2 separate regions of the Homo sapiens genome follow, and region 2 is linked to region 1. The links are contacts of gene promoters, found by promoter capture Hi-C in human tissues and cell types (Jung and others, 2019). All regions are on one chromosome and are shown on one strand. The core of a region is centred on a gene start or on the middle of the fragment in contact, and the rest is flanking DNA. Distances in the headings are between cores, read along the strand shown. Region 1 holds the start of AP5B1 (adaptor related protein complex 5 subunit beta 1). Region 2 holds the start of KAT5 (lysine acetyltransferase 5).

What was found. The method cuts DNA at HindIII sites, captures the fragments that hold promoters and counts their contacts. A contact is called where the count stands out against the background at its distance.
Region 2: a contact is called between the fragment with the promoter of KAT5 here and the fragment with the promoter of AP5B1 in region 1, in 1 of the 25 tissues and cell types used here (spleen).

The regions. Positions count from the first base shown.
Region 1 is chr11:65,778,430-65,784,459 of GRCh38, reverse strand. It overlaps AP5B1 (adaptor related protein complex 5 subunit beta 1), which reads left to right and starts at 3,484. Exons shown (of 2, transcript NM_138368.5): 1 at 3,484-4,018; 2 at 4,118-6,030. The coding sequence starts at 3,869. RefSeq lists enhancers at 2,113-2,770, 3,500-4,402 and silencers at 3,031-3,770, 3,811-3,990, 4,141-4,410. The HindIII fragment of the contact is 21,769 bases long and covers 1-6,030 here.
Region 2 is chr11:65,709,285-65,714,809 of GRCh38, reverse strand. It overlaps KAT5 (lysine acetyltransferase 5), which reads right to left and starts at 2,558. Exons shown (of 13, transcript NM_182710.3): 1 at 2,365-2,558; 2 at 1,976-2,044; 3 at 1,752-1,888; 4 at 1,307-1,462; 5 at 1,143-1,217; 6 at 962-1,036; 7 at 67-315. The coding sequence starts at 2,542. RefSeq lists silencers at 2,233-2,312, 2,323-2,512 and enhancers at 2,543-2,852, 2,883-3,002. The HindIII fragment of the contact is 8,771 bases long and covers 1-5,212 here.

The DNA of each region.
Region 1 (6,030 bases), core at 2,235-4,734:
GCCAAGGCCCTGAGCAGGAGTGAGCCTAGTGTGTACCGCGAACCCAAATGCAACCTGGCCGTGCGGTGGGGGGAAGAGAGGGTAGGGAAGCTGAGGTTGGAGAGGCAGGTGGGCCACACGAGGTGCTCTTAAAACCCAGGCCAGGCCTCCCCTCGGCTCACACCCTCCAGTGGCTTCACTGCAGCTGGAATAAGAGCCTGAGGCCTGGCGTGCTGGGGCCGCCGTTGACCTCCCAATCCCCTTCCAGCTGGGTCCCTGTATGCCAGCCACACTGCTGTCTCCCGCGTCCCCTGAACAAGCCTTGGCCTGTTCCCAGCTCTGGCCCCTCCTCCCGATGCTCCTTCTGCCTGGAACACTTTTCCCTACTGGATTACTGGCCACCTTTCTTCATTCAGGTTTCAACCAAATGTCCCCTCTTCTGAGGGGCCTCTCCATCCACCCCAGCTAAATCCTTGTCCCCTGCCACCTCTGTCCCACTATCCTATTTTCTTTGCCACAACTTTGACTCTGTGGCGTTTCGTTTGTCTTTCTTGTTTATTGTTGGTTCTCCTCCCCACCAGTGCAAGTTCTGAACTTGAGGGACCCCTTTTTATTTTACTTTTTTATTTTTATTTATTTTTTTTGAGACGGTGTCTCCCTGTCGTCCAGGCTGGAGAGCAGTGGCGTGATCTCGGCTCACTGCAAGCTCCGACCCCCTGGTTCACGCCATTCTCCTGCCTCAGCCTCCTGAGTAGCTGGGACTTACAGGCGCCCGCCACCATGCCCAGCTAATTTTTTTGTATTTTTAGTAGAGACGGGGTTTCACCATGTTCTCCAGGATGGTCTCAATCTCCTGACCTCGTGATCTGCCCGCCTCAGCCTCCCAAAGGCTGGGATTACAGGAGTGAGCCACCGTGCCCGGCCTTATTTTTTATTTTTACTTTTTGTGCCCCTGCTGGTCTGGGGTGGGACCCCTTTTTAAACACCATTTTAAATAGCTTTATTTAGATAGAATTCATATACCATCAAATTCACCCTTTTGTAAGATGTACAATTCACTGGTTTTTAGTAACCTCACAGAGCTGTACAACCATCATCACTAAATCTCAGAACATTTTCATGGCCCCAAAGAAAACCCTGTACTCATTAGCTGTCACTGTGTCTCCCTTCCCCCTGGCCCAGCACCCACTATCTGCTCTATCTCCATGGCTTTGCCTATTGACTCGTTCTTTCCTAAGCCTTCCTGTATCCCCAGCAGCCAGTGCTGCGAGAGTGTGTTTGTTGTAGCCCGATTTTACAGATGAGAAAACTGAGGCTCAGGACCCCTTGGGAAGCTGACTTTCCCTTTTACAAGCCTTGTGTTTAGTGTCTGCCCACAACTGGGCTGCATGGGGAGGACAGAAACTCAGCAGGAGAAGAAATGAGGGAGGGCGTGGAGTGGGGAATTCCCAGCTCAGCATCCGGCAGTGGCCCACACCTGGGCCCTCGACTGGGATGTTGCTGTCCCGGGTGAGTCCGGTGACAGTCTGAGCTCAGCTCCATGCCTGGCCTTGCCAGGGACAGAGCCAGCACCACCCGCCAATAGGGGAGCAGACAGGTGAGAACAGGGCCCATCCAGGGACCTGGACACCCAAGAGGGCCGAGGGTACCTGGTGTGGGGGGAGGACCAGGTCAGATGCAACAAGGGGCTGTTTGTGGAAGTCGAGGCTCCACCTCTGAGGGGCTCTGTGACTGAGAGACCGTACCTCTGTGGGCTTCCCTTTCCTCATCTGATACCCACTCTCGGTACCTGGGGTTGCTGTGAGCCTCAGTAAGTCCATGCGGATTCGTCCACTGCAGTATTGGAGACCACAAGTGGGTTCCCTCCCTCCAGACCCTCAGCCTCAAGGAGTCAAGACTCAGGCAGGAGGTGTGCAGAGGCCACGCTGTCAGAGGCTGAGCCGGGGCCAGAGCCAGTGTCAGGCCCCCTGATCCTTGGAAACCTGTCTTCTCAACTCTGCAAGAAGTTTAATGATCATTCCTGCCTCACCGTGAGGGTGGTGAGGGCCGGGGATGTGCAGTTACCAGCACCCTCTGGGCTCAGACAGAGAAACCAGACTGGCTCCTACTGCAGGCTGCCTCCCCTCCCCAGGGCTGCTCTCATCCTGCCTCTTTCATCTTGGGTTTAATTAGCCAGGCTGCCTCACCCCACAGCCTCTTGGGTGGGAGTTATCACTCCCATTTTATAGATGGGGAAACTGAGGCACCTAGAGGGAAGTAGTTTGGGGCTGCTGCCTGTGAGTCAACTGTGGAGCCAGGGCCTAGAGGAGCCGGGACCGGGCCTTCTGGCTGGACCTGTCCCTCCGAGTGGGTCTCTATCTCTCCATCCCCAAGGGCACCCAGACAGCCTCCTTTTTGGCACTCTCCACCCCTCAACTCTCCACCACCTCCCATCTGGAGCAGGATGGGGTAGGGAGAGGCCAGCTGGCACTGGCTTGCATGGGGGCTCAGGCCTGTTTCATCTTCAAAGCGGCTAATTGGAGCCAGAGGGGTGGTGAGGTTTGGGCGCCGGCGGTTCTGTGCCCTGGAAACCGGTGGTCTGTGGGGCACCTGCAACCTGGGCCTCTGGCCTGGGAGAGACCGCCGCCCAGACCCCCGAATGCCCCCAAACAGCCAGAATCCAGCCCACTGAAGTCTGGAGTGCTGGGTTCCGGCCCGGCTTGGCCCCAGATCTCGGTTGGCAAGGCCGCCCTCCTCCTGGGCCTGTTTTCCCCATCGCTAGGCATGCCTCGAGCCCCGTGACCGGCCAGGCCCTGACAGCCCGCACTTCCCGAGTATGGATCCCGTTGTTTTCGACTTAGGGCCCTGCCCCGCCCTCGCCGTCACGACCCCTGCGGGCCGCCAGCGCGGCCTCGGGCAAACAAAGGTCAGAAGCTCCTGGCTGGCCGCAACCGCGGCGCCGGCTCCTCGCCCCCAAGCCGAGCGGGCTGGGGGCCCGGGCAGGCGTCAGGGAAGCGAAGCCAAGCCCTGCGGCGCCCGCCGGACCGGTTCAGCTGGGGCGCTTTTCCTGCGGGCGCCCTGCGACCGCACCTTGGTCACCCCCAGGGGCCACTCCGGGAGCCCCAGGACCCGCACCCACGCCCCCCGGGGCCGCGCGTCTGGCGCAGGGTGCGGTGTGCCCGGGCGCCGGCGGGGGGCGCGCTGGCTGCCGCCCTGCGCGGCTTGGCGGGCGCTGGTGGGACCGGGCCGCTGTCCGCCGAGGGCCGCGGGATCGCAGCCCTGCGCCGCGGTACCCGGCATCTGGGGCCCAGGCCCACCCCGCTCCGCCACCCCTACCCACTCCCCTCCGCCTTTCCTGCCCCGGCCTGCGGCGGTTTCGGGGAAGGGGGCCTGCGCGGCGGGACAGTTAGTCAGCCCCCGCGAAACCTGCGAGTCGACACCTGCGGGAGGCGGTGGCCCCGTTACGCCCCGCCCCTCCCCGCCCGGACTCGGCCGCCCCCGCGCCGCGCCCCGCCCCGCGCCGCCAGCCCGGAAGGAGCCGGCCGGCCTGAGTGCCCGCGGCGGCTGAGTCAGGCGGCGAGCGCGGCCCGTTACCGCCGGCGCCGGGGGCCGGGGTGGCGCTGTGGTTTCGGTGCGGGCCGCGGGCGGGAGGGAGGCGGCCTAACGAGCTCTCGGCACGCACCCTCCCCCGCCCTGCTCCTGTCCTGTCCCGCGAGGGCCCCGGCGCCCAGCTCTGGCGTCGGCCCCGAGAGCCCTGGTCTCACCGTGGGAGCCGGGCGCGGGTCCCGCCGGCATCTGCGCGGCGTCTGGGGGTGACCGCAGCCCCTCGGGGTCGGCAGCGGGCCCCGCGCTCCCGGTGGCTGCGGCCTGAGGGTCCCTCTTCCCTGCGCAGGGGCCCGCGCGCCTCACCATGGGGCCCCTGAGCCGGGACGCCTGGGCCCAGCGCTTGGGGGCCTTCCGGGCCAGCCCGTCTGCCTTCATGGCAGGTCCCGAGGGGGAGGATTTGGGTCGCGACCTGCTGAGCGACCTGAGAAGTGAGAAGCTGAGCGAACAGACCAAGGTAGGCCCCCACGCGTCCCCTGCGCCGTTCCGCAGGGTCACCCCAGCCCGCCGCGTCATGAACCTCATCTTCGTGATTCCCTCCTAATCCCCCATCCAGGTTTCCCTGCTGGCCCTGAGCATGGAGTACCCTGCGCAGCTGTGGCCCGACGCCTCTGCGGCCGAAGTGGCCGCCACCTCCCTGTTGGACACCTTGGTCCTCCTACCCCCGCGGCCCTCAGCTCTCCGTCGGCCACTGCTGCTGGCGGCCACCACTGCCCTGGCGGCGGGCGGCGCGCTGGGCCCCACCTCGGGCGCCTCCTGCCGGCTCCTGCCCCTACTGCTCGGCCTGGCCGCGGGTAGCGATCTGGGGCGAGGCTTTGTCCCCGCCTCGGAACAGCGCCCCTTGCAGGCCACGGCCTGCGAGTGCCTGCGAGAGCTAGAGAGCTGCAAGCCCGGGCTGCTGGGGGGCTCCCTGGGGTTGCTGCGGGGCCTGCTGGGGCAGGAAGGCCCTGTCCAGCCACTCAGCCTGTTGCTGGCCCTCGCTTTGCGCAACACCTTGGTGCTCCAGTCCCGGGTTGGGGCTGGCCTGGGGGGACTGCTCACGGATAAGGTCTCCCCAACTGGGGGTGGTCCCTGGGATTGGACACTAGTGGAGGAGGGCGATGGACGCCTTCAGCCCCAGGCACCCAGCTGGCCGGCAGCTGAGGAGGGAGAGGGGGAGCGTAGCCTTACAGCACGAGAGCACAGCCCTGAGGAGGCGCGGGAGCTGCGGGCTGCGGTGATCCAGCTTCTGGACACCTCCTATCTGCTCACTCCTGTGGCCCAGGCCCAGCTCCTGTGGCTGCTGGGCTGGGCCCTGCGGGGTCTGCAGGGACAGCCACCGGCACTCTTCAAGCCGCAGCTGGTACGGCTGCTAGGCACAGCACAGCTGACACTGTTGCACGCCATGCTTGCGCTCAAGGCGGCCTTTGGTGAGGCCTTGTTCACAGCCCAGGATGAAGCGTTGCTGCTCCGCCGGCTCACCTTGGCTGCCCAGCACCCTGCTCTGCCTCCGCCCACCCATCTCTTTTACCTTCACTGCGTCCTGAGCTTCCCTGAGAACTGGCCGCTGGGCCCTGAAGGTGAGGAGGCTGCCCCACTGCTGCTAGGGCCCCAGCTATGCCGTGGTCTCCTGCCCAGTCTCCTGCATGACCCAATGGCCCTCCTGGCCCGCCTGCATTTACTGTGCCTGCTCTGTGCCGAGGAGGAAGAAGAGGAGAAAGGCCAGCTTCCAAGCCCACGGCACTACCTGGAAGAGCTGCTGGCTGGCTTGCGGCAGCGGGCAGCCCTGGATGGGGGCCCCCGGGCCTTGGCCACTCTCTGCTTCCAGGCCTCGTATCTGGTGGCCTGCTGCCTGGCTGGGCAACCTACGGTGCTGACCCCCTTGATCCACGGACTGGCCCAGCTGTACCAAGCCCGGCCCATGCTGGCTCCCCACTTTGTGGACCTCTTGGATCAGGTGGACTCTGAGCTGAGGGAGCCCCTGAAGGTGGTGTTGCGGCAGGTGGTGGTGTCCAGGCCGGGCAGGGATGAAGCTCTTTGCTGGCACCTGCAAATGCTGGCAAAGGTGGCAGATGGAGATGCCCAGAGTGCTACCCTCAACTTTCTACAGGCCGCGGCTGCCCACTGCACGAACTGGGACCTACAGCAGGGCCTGCTGCGGGTCTGCCGGGCGCTGCTGCGGGCAGGGGTGAGGGGCGGCCTGGTCGACTTGCTGCAGGTGCTGGCCAGGCAGCTGGAGGACCCTGATGGGCGTGACCACGCCCGCCTCTACTACATCCTGCTGGCACACCTGGCAGCACCCAAGTTGGGGGTGGCCCTGGGCCCCTCGCTTGCCGCACCTGCACTGGCCTCTTCACTGGTGGCCGAGAACCAGGGCTTTGTGGCAGCACTGATGGTGCAGGAGGCACCGGCCCTGGTACGGCTGAGCCTGGGGTCCCATCGGGTCAAGGGCCCACTCCCAGTGTTGAAGCTCCAGCCGGAGGCGCTGGA
Region 2 (5,525 bases), core at 1,309-3,808, 69 kb after region 1:
AGGAGGATCAGGAACAAGGGCAACGTGGAGGGTGCTGGGAAGGCAGCCTCCCTGGACCCCTCATACCAAATGACGCTGAAGACACTTGAGACTACGGCCGTACTTGAGGCAGAACTCGCACAGGTAGAGGACAGGCAATGTGGTGAGTTCCTGTGGGTACGGGGAGAAGTACCACGGCTTGAGGCGGTGCCGGCCCAGCTCAATGCACTCAATGTTCTTCATCCGGGTGACGATGTCGTCGTGGCTTCGATCAGACACCAGGCTGCCAGTCATGCGTGGTGCTGACGGTATTCCATCAGAGCTGTCCTGGGAGTCCTGCCCAGGGCCAGTGGAAAATACCAGGTTGTAAGAGACAGCTCAGCAGGACACCACAGCTCACAGCCCTTTGACAGGTTTCCTTCAAGCCTAACAGCAACCCTAAGGGGGAGGTACCATGATCCCCAATTTCCAGATAAAAAACCTGAAACCCTAAAGGATCGATGATGTGGAAAAGATCACCCAATGACCCCATTTTTTAGATGGAGTCTCAGTCTGTCGCCCAGGCTGGAGGGCAGTAGCGCGATCTTGGCTCACTGCAATCTCCACCTCCGGGGTTCAAGCAGTTCTCCTGCCTCAGCTTTCCGAGCTGGATTACAGGCACCCGCCACCACGCCTGGCTAATTTTTGTATTTCTAGTAGAAACAAGGTTTCACCATGTTGGCCAGGCTGGTCTCAAACTCCTGACCTCAGGTGATCCACCAGCCTTGGTTGGACTCCCAAAGTGCTGGGATTACAGGTATGAGCCATGGTGCCCGGCCCCAATGACTCATTTGAACAATGTTCTGCCTGTCTCCTAATCCCACCAACACTAGCTCTGCCCACCACCCCTTCTTTATTTTTAAACTCATCACTAAATAACTCTCCACCCTGCCTGCATCCCTTCCTTTTCACCCAGTTCCCTTCTGCTGCTCCCCAGACCCACCTCATCAGTGCCCAAACAATTCGATTTTCGCTTCCGTCCTGGCTGGGCTGCCACTGCCCTACGGGCGGCTCCATTCTGCCGAGATAGTAGGAAAAGAAGGGATGGCTGTGAAATGAGCCTGAAAAAAGCCACCAGAGAGTAGAAGAGAGGAAGAGAACAAGAGATGGTTTGGGGAACTCACCTGGGGAAAAACCGAGGCCGGGGCTGTCTCGCTGGGCACTGGAGTTGCTGGTGAAACCACCTCCACCTTCCGTTTCTGCAGAGAGAAACCAACAAAGGTGGGTCAGAAGGTAGAGAAGGTGGGACCTGAGAAGAAAGCAAGGTCCCTGGAATTGCTGAGGGTACCGTTGAGCGGTGGTTGGGCTGCAGGCAGGAGCTGGAGGAGAGCGGCTGGTCAGGCTCGCCACCGGGAATGGCCTCCCGCTCCTTGGGCAGGTTGAAGCGGAGTGTGATCTGGACCGGGATTGGCAAGGTCTTCCCGCTGGCCTGCGCCGAGGCCGGCTGTAGAGATAGGTCCAGGGTCTTCCTTTGGGGCGGGGATGGCAGTGGGATGGGGAAGGGGAAGAGGGGTCCCTCACCTCAAAATTATCAAACCCCACCCTCGCCTTCTGAAGGACACAGGACTAGCTACTGGACTCTGGGAGCTACATGTGCAATTTGGCCCCCATCCTTTGCAAGATGAAGTCAGGGTGAGAGGGAGCCGCCTCCTGCCCATCCAGGAGCTCCTAATGCCAACAGACAAGAGAAATAGGAGGCAGGAGAGAAAAGGTGAAGTGGGGGACCTACTCACCACCTCTCTCTCTGGAGAGCCAGGACGGGACCCAGGAAGTCCGTTCTTAGTGGGGGTCTTGGCCTCTTTCTTGGGGAACTGGATCTTCTTTAGGTCCAGCCGCTCATGCGTCACCCATTCATCCAGACGTTTGTTGACTGTAGCAGTGGGGATGGCTCAGGACAGAATGCCAAAGACTGTCCCCCAACCCTACCCTGATGCCCCACCTCAGGCCCAGAACTCACAGTCAATGTAATGGACGTAGAAAAGCTTCCGGCCACTGATGTCCTTCACGCTCAGGATCTCGGCCAGGGCTATGAGAATAGCATAGACAGGGGCCTTAGACAGGCCAGGCTATGAGACTCCACCCTTCCACGACCTGAACTCCACCCCCAGGCCGGATCCCTAAGCTCCAGCACTTAGGTCTCTCCTAAGCCTCCTTCAGTCACAAGTGCCACCCCTTTCCAGGCCCCGCCCTGTACCTCTCGGAGCAGCTAAGAGCCACGCCCCTTCATCAAAGTATCTGCGCCTCGCCCGCCCCATAATTCCAGACGCCCCTCCCCATCCCGGGATTTCAGTTGACTCCCGCCCCTCGCCCTCAGGTTCCTTAGTCCCGCCCCCCAACGTCACTCACGCCACTCATCTTCGTTGTCCTGGTTCCGCCGCAGCACGGGTAGGCGGCAGCCCTCGATTATCTCCCCCTGGGGAGACAGCGCGACGCCAGGGTCGGCTACTGGGGGGCCTCGGGCTCTACCCACCTCCCCTGGCTCCCTCCGCCCCGCCCCGGGCACCGGACTCACCACCTCCGCCATCTTCCCTCCCTCCACTGCCACTTCCGGCCCCTCTGGGAGACGTCACTTCCGGGACCGAGCGCCCTGTGGGCCCGGGCCTCACGAAGCCCCTGTAGAGGGGGACCTTTGAGAGACACCGCGACCCAGCTGCGAGGGGCAAGACTGCCCCTGTGACTCGGGGGAAAACGGAGTGTTACAAGCCTCAGGCCGAGCCCTAGGTGGAAACCCCATAACGTGCACAGCCAGTGGCGGTCTACTGAGTCCGTCACGTGACGCCCACCGGGTGCGAAGCTGGTCACGTGTATGCGGAGCGGGTCACGTGGCAATACCGTTTTTGGCTTTGTCGGAGGGAAGTCCTCGGGCGTCTCCTTGTGGCGGCGGGAGGTGTTGCCGGGAGTCAACTGGGCGCGAGAGGCTGGAGAAAGGAAGTGGCCTTAGAAGGGTTCGAACGCTCCCCCAAGTCTGTGGACTTCATTCCGTAGGCAAGAGGACTCAGGGAAGATTCCTAGCTTTATTTTGTATATTAGGCTTTTTTAATTTGTATATATTTATTTTTGAGACGGAGTCTCGCTCTGTCGCCAGGCTGGAGTGCAGTGGCGCGATCTCAGCTCCCTGTAACCCCCGCCTCCCGGGTTCAAGCGATTCTCCTGCCTCAGCCTCCCGAGTACCCAACTAATTTTTGTATTTTTAGTACGGGCGGGGTTTCACCATGTTGGCCAGGATGGTCTAGAGCTCTTGACCTCGTGATCCGCCCGCCTCGGCCTCACAAAGTACTGGGATTACAGGCGTGAGCCACCGCCCTCAGCCATATTAGGCTTTTTTTTTTTTTTTTTTTTTTTTTGAGACAAGGTCTGGCTCTCTCGCCCGGGCTGGAGTGCAGCCAGCGAGGCACAATCTCCGCTCACTGCAGCCTCCCCCTCCCGGGATCAAGTGATCCACCTCAGGCTCTCTAGTAGCTGGGACTACAGGCGCGCACCACCAAGCCTGGCTAGTTTTTTAAAATTTTTGTGTAAACAGGGTTTGGAGACTGGGCATGGTGGCTCACACCTGTAATCCCAGCTGCCTCCAGTCTAATCATGAGAAAAACATCAGACAAATCCCAATTGAGAAACATTTTACAAAATACCCCATGAATACTCCTCAAAACTGTGAAGGTGTCACCGGTGGAGGGTGTACAGGTTCTTGGCATCTAAAATAATGGGACAAAACGGCTGGGCGCGGTGGCTCACGCCTATAATCCCAGCACTTTGGGAGGCCGAGGCGGGCGGATCACGAGGTCAGGAGATTGAGACCATCCTGGCCAACACGGTGAAACCCTGTCTCTACTAAAAATAAATACAAAAAATTAGCTGGGCGTGGTGGCAGGCGCCTGTAGTCCCAGCTACTCGGGAGGCAGAGGCAGGAGAGTGGCGTGAACCCGGGAGGCAGAGCTTGCAGTGAGCCGAGATTGCGCCACTGCACTCCAGACAGAGCAAGACTCTGTCTCAAAGAAAAAGAAAAAAAAAAAGAATTGGACAAAATGCACAAAGCAAGGAAGGAATGAACGATTTATTGAAAATGAAAGTACACTCCAGTGTTGGGGCCGGCTGAGCATAGGTGCTCAAGGGCCCAGTTACAGAATTTGTTGGAGTTTAAATACCCTTTGGAGGATTCCATTGGTTATTTGGGATATGCCATATGTAAATGAAGAGGATGAAGTAAAGTTACAAAGTCATTTAGGGTGTACTCCCTAAGGAGAGGATATTTCCTGTCATAACTGAAGTGTGAATCAGCCTTATATGTTCCCTGCCTCCAGACCCTATTTTCCTGCCTCAAAGGTGGCTGAACATGGTGGCTTACGCCTATAATCCCAGTGTTACAGGAAAGGGGTCCCCATCCAGACCCCAAGAGAGGGTTCTTGGATCTCGTGCAATAAAGAATTCAGGGCGAGTCCAGCACTTTGGGAGGCCAGGCAGGTGGATAACCTGAGGTCAGGAGTTCGAGACCAGCCTGACCAACATGATGAAACCCCATCTCTACTAAAAATACAAAAATTAGGCAGGCGTGGTGGTGCGCGCCTGTAATCCCAGCTACTCGGGAGGCTGAGGCTGGAGAATTGCTTGAACCCAGGAGGCGGAGGTTGCAGTGAGCCAAGATCAGGCCACTGCACTCCAGCCTGGGAACAGAACAAGACTCCGTCTCAAAAAAAAAAAAAAAGAATTGAGGGCGAGGCCATAAAGTGAAAGCAAGTTTGTTAGGAAAGTAAAGGAACTCAATGCTGGTTGCCCATTTTTCTGGTTATTTCTTGATGATCTGCTAAGCAAGGGGCGGATTATTCATGCCTCCCCTTTTTAGACCATATTCGGTAACTTCCTGCCGTTGCCATGGCACTGGTAGGAGTGCAGCAGTGAGGACAACCAGAGGTCACTCTGGTGGCCGTCTTGGTTTTGGTGGGTTTTAGTTGGCTTTCTTACTGCAACCTGTTTTATCAGCAAGGTCTTTATGACCTGTATCTTGTACCGACCTATCTTATCTTGTGACTTAGAATGTCTTAACCGTCTGGGAATGCAGCCTAGTAGGTCTCGGCCTCATTTTACCCAGCTTCTATTCAAGATAGAGTTGCTCTGGTTCATGCAACTCTGACACCGAGGCAGGCGGACAACTTGAGGTCAGGCGTTCAAGACCAGCCTGGCCAACATGGTAAAACACCGTCTCTACTAAAAATACAAAAGTTAGCTGGGCACGGTGGCATCCGCCTGTAATCCCAGCTACTCAGTCAGCCAAGATCGTGCCACTGCACTCCAGCCTGGGCAACAGAACAAGACTGTGTCTCAGAAGGAAAAAAAAGAGGCCGTGCGCAGTGGCTCGCTCCTGTAATCCCAGCACTTTGGGAGGTCAAGGCAGGAGTTCGAGACCAGCCTGGCCAATATAGTGAAACCACATCTCTACTAAAAATACAAAAATTAGCTGGGCGTGGTGGCATCTGCCTGTAGTCCTAGCTATTCAGGAGGCTGAGGCGGGAGAA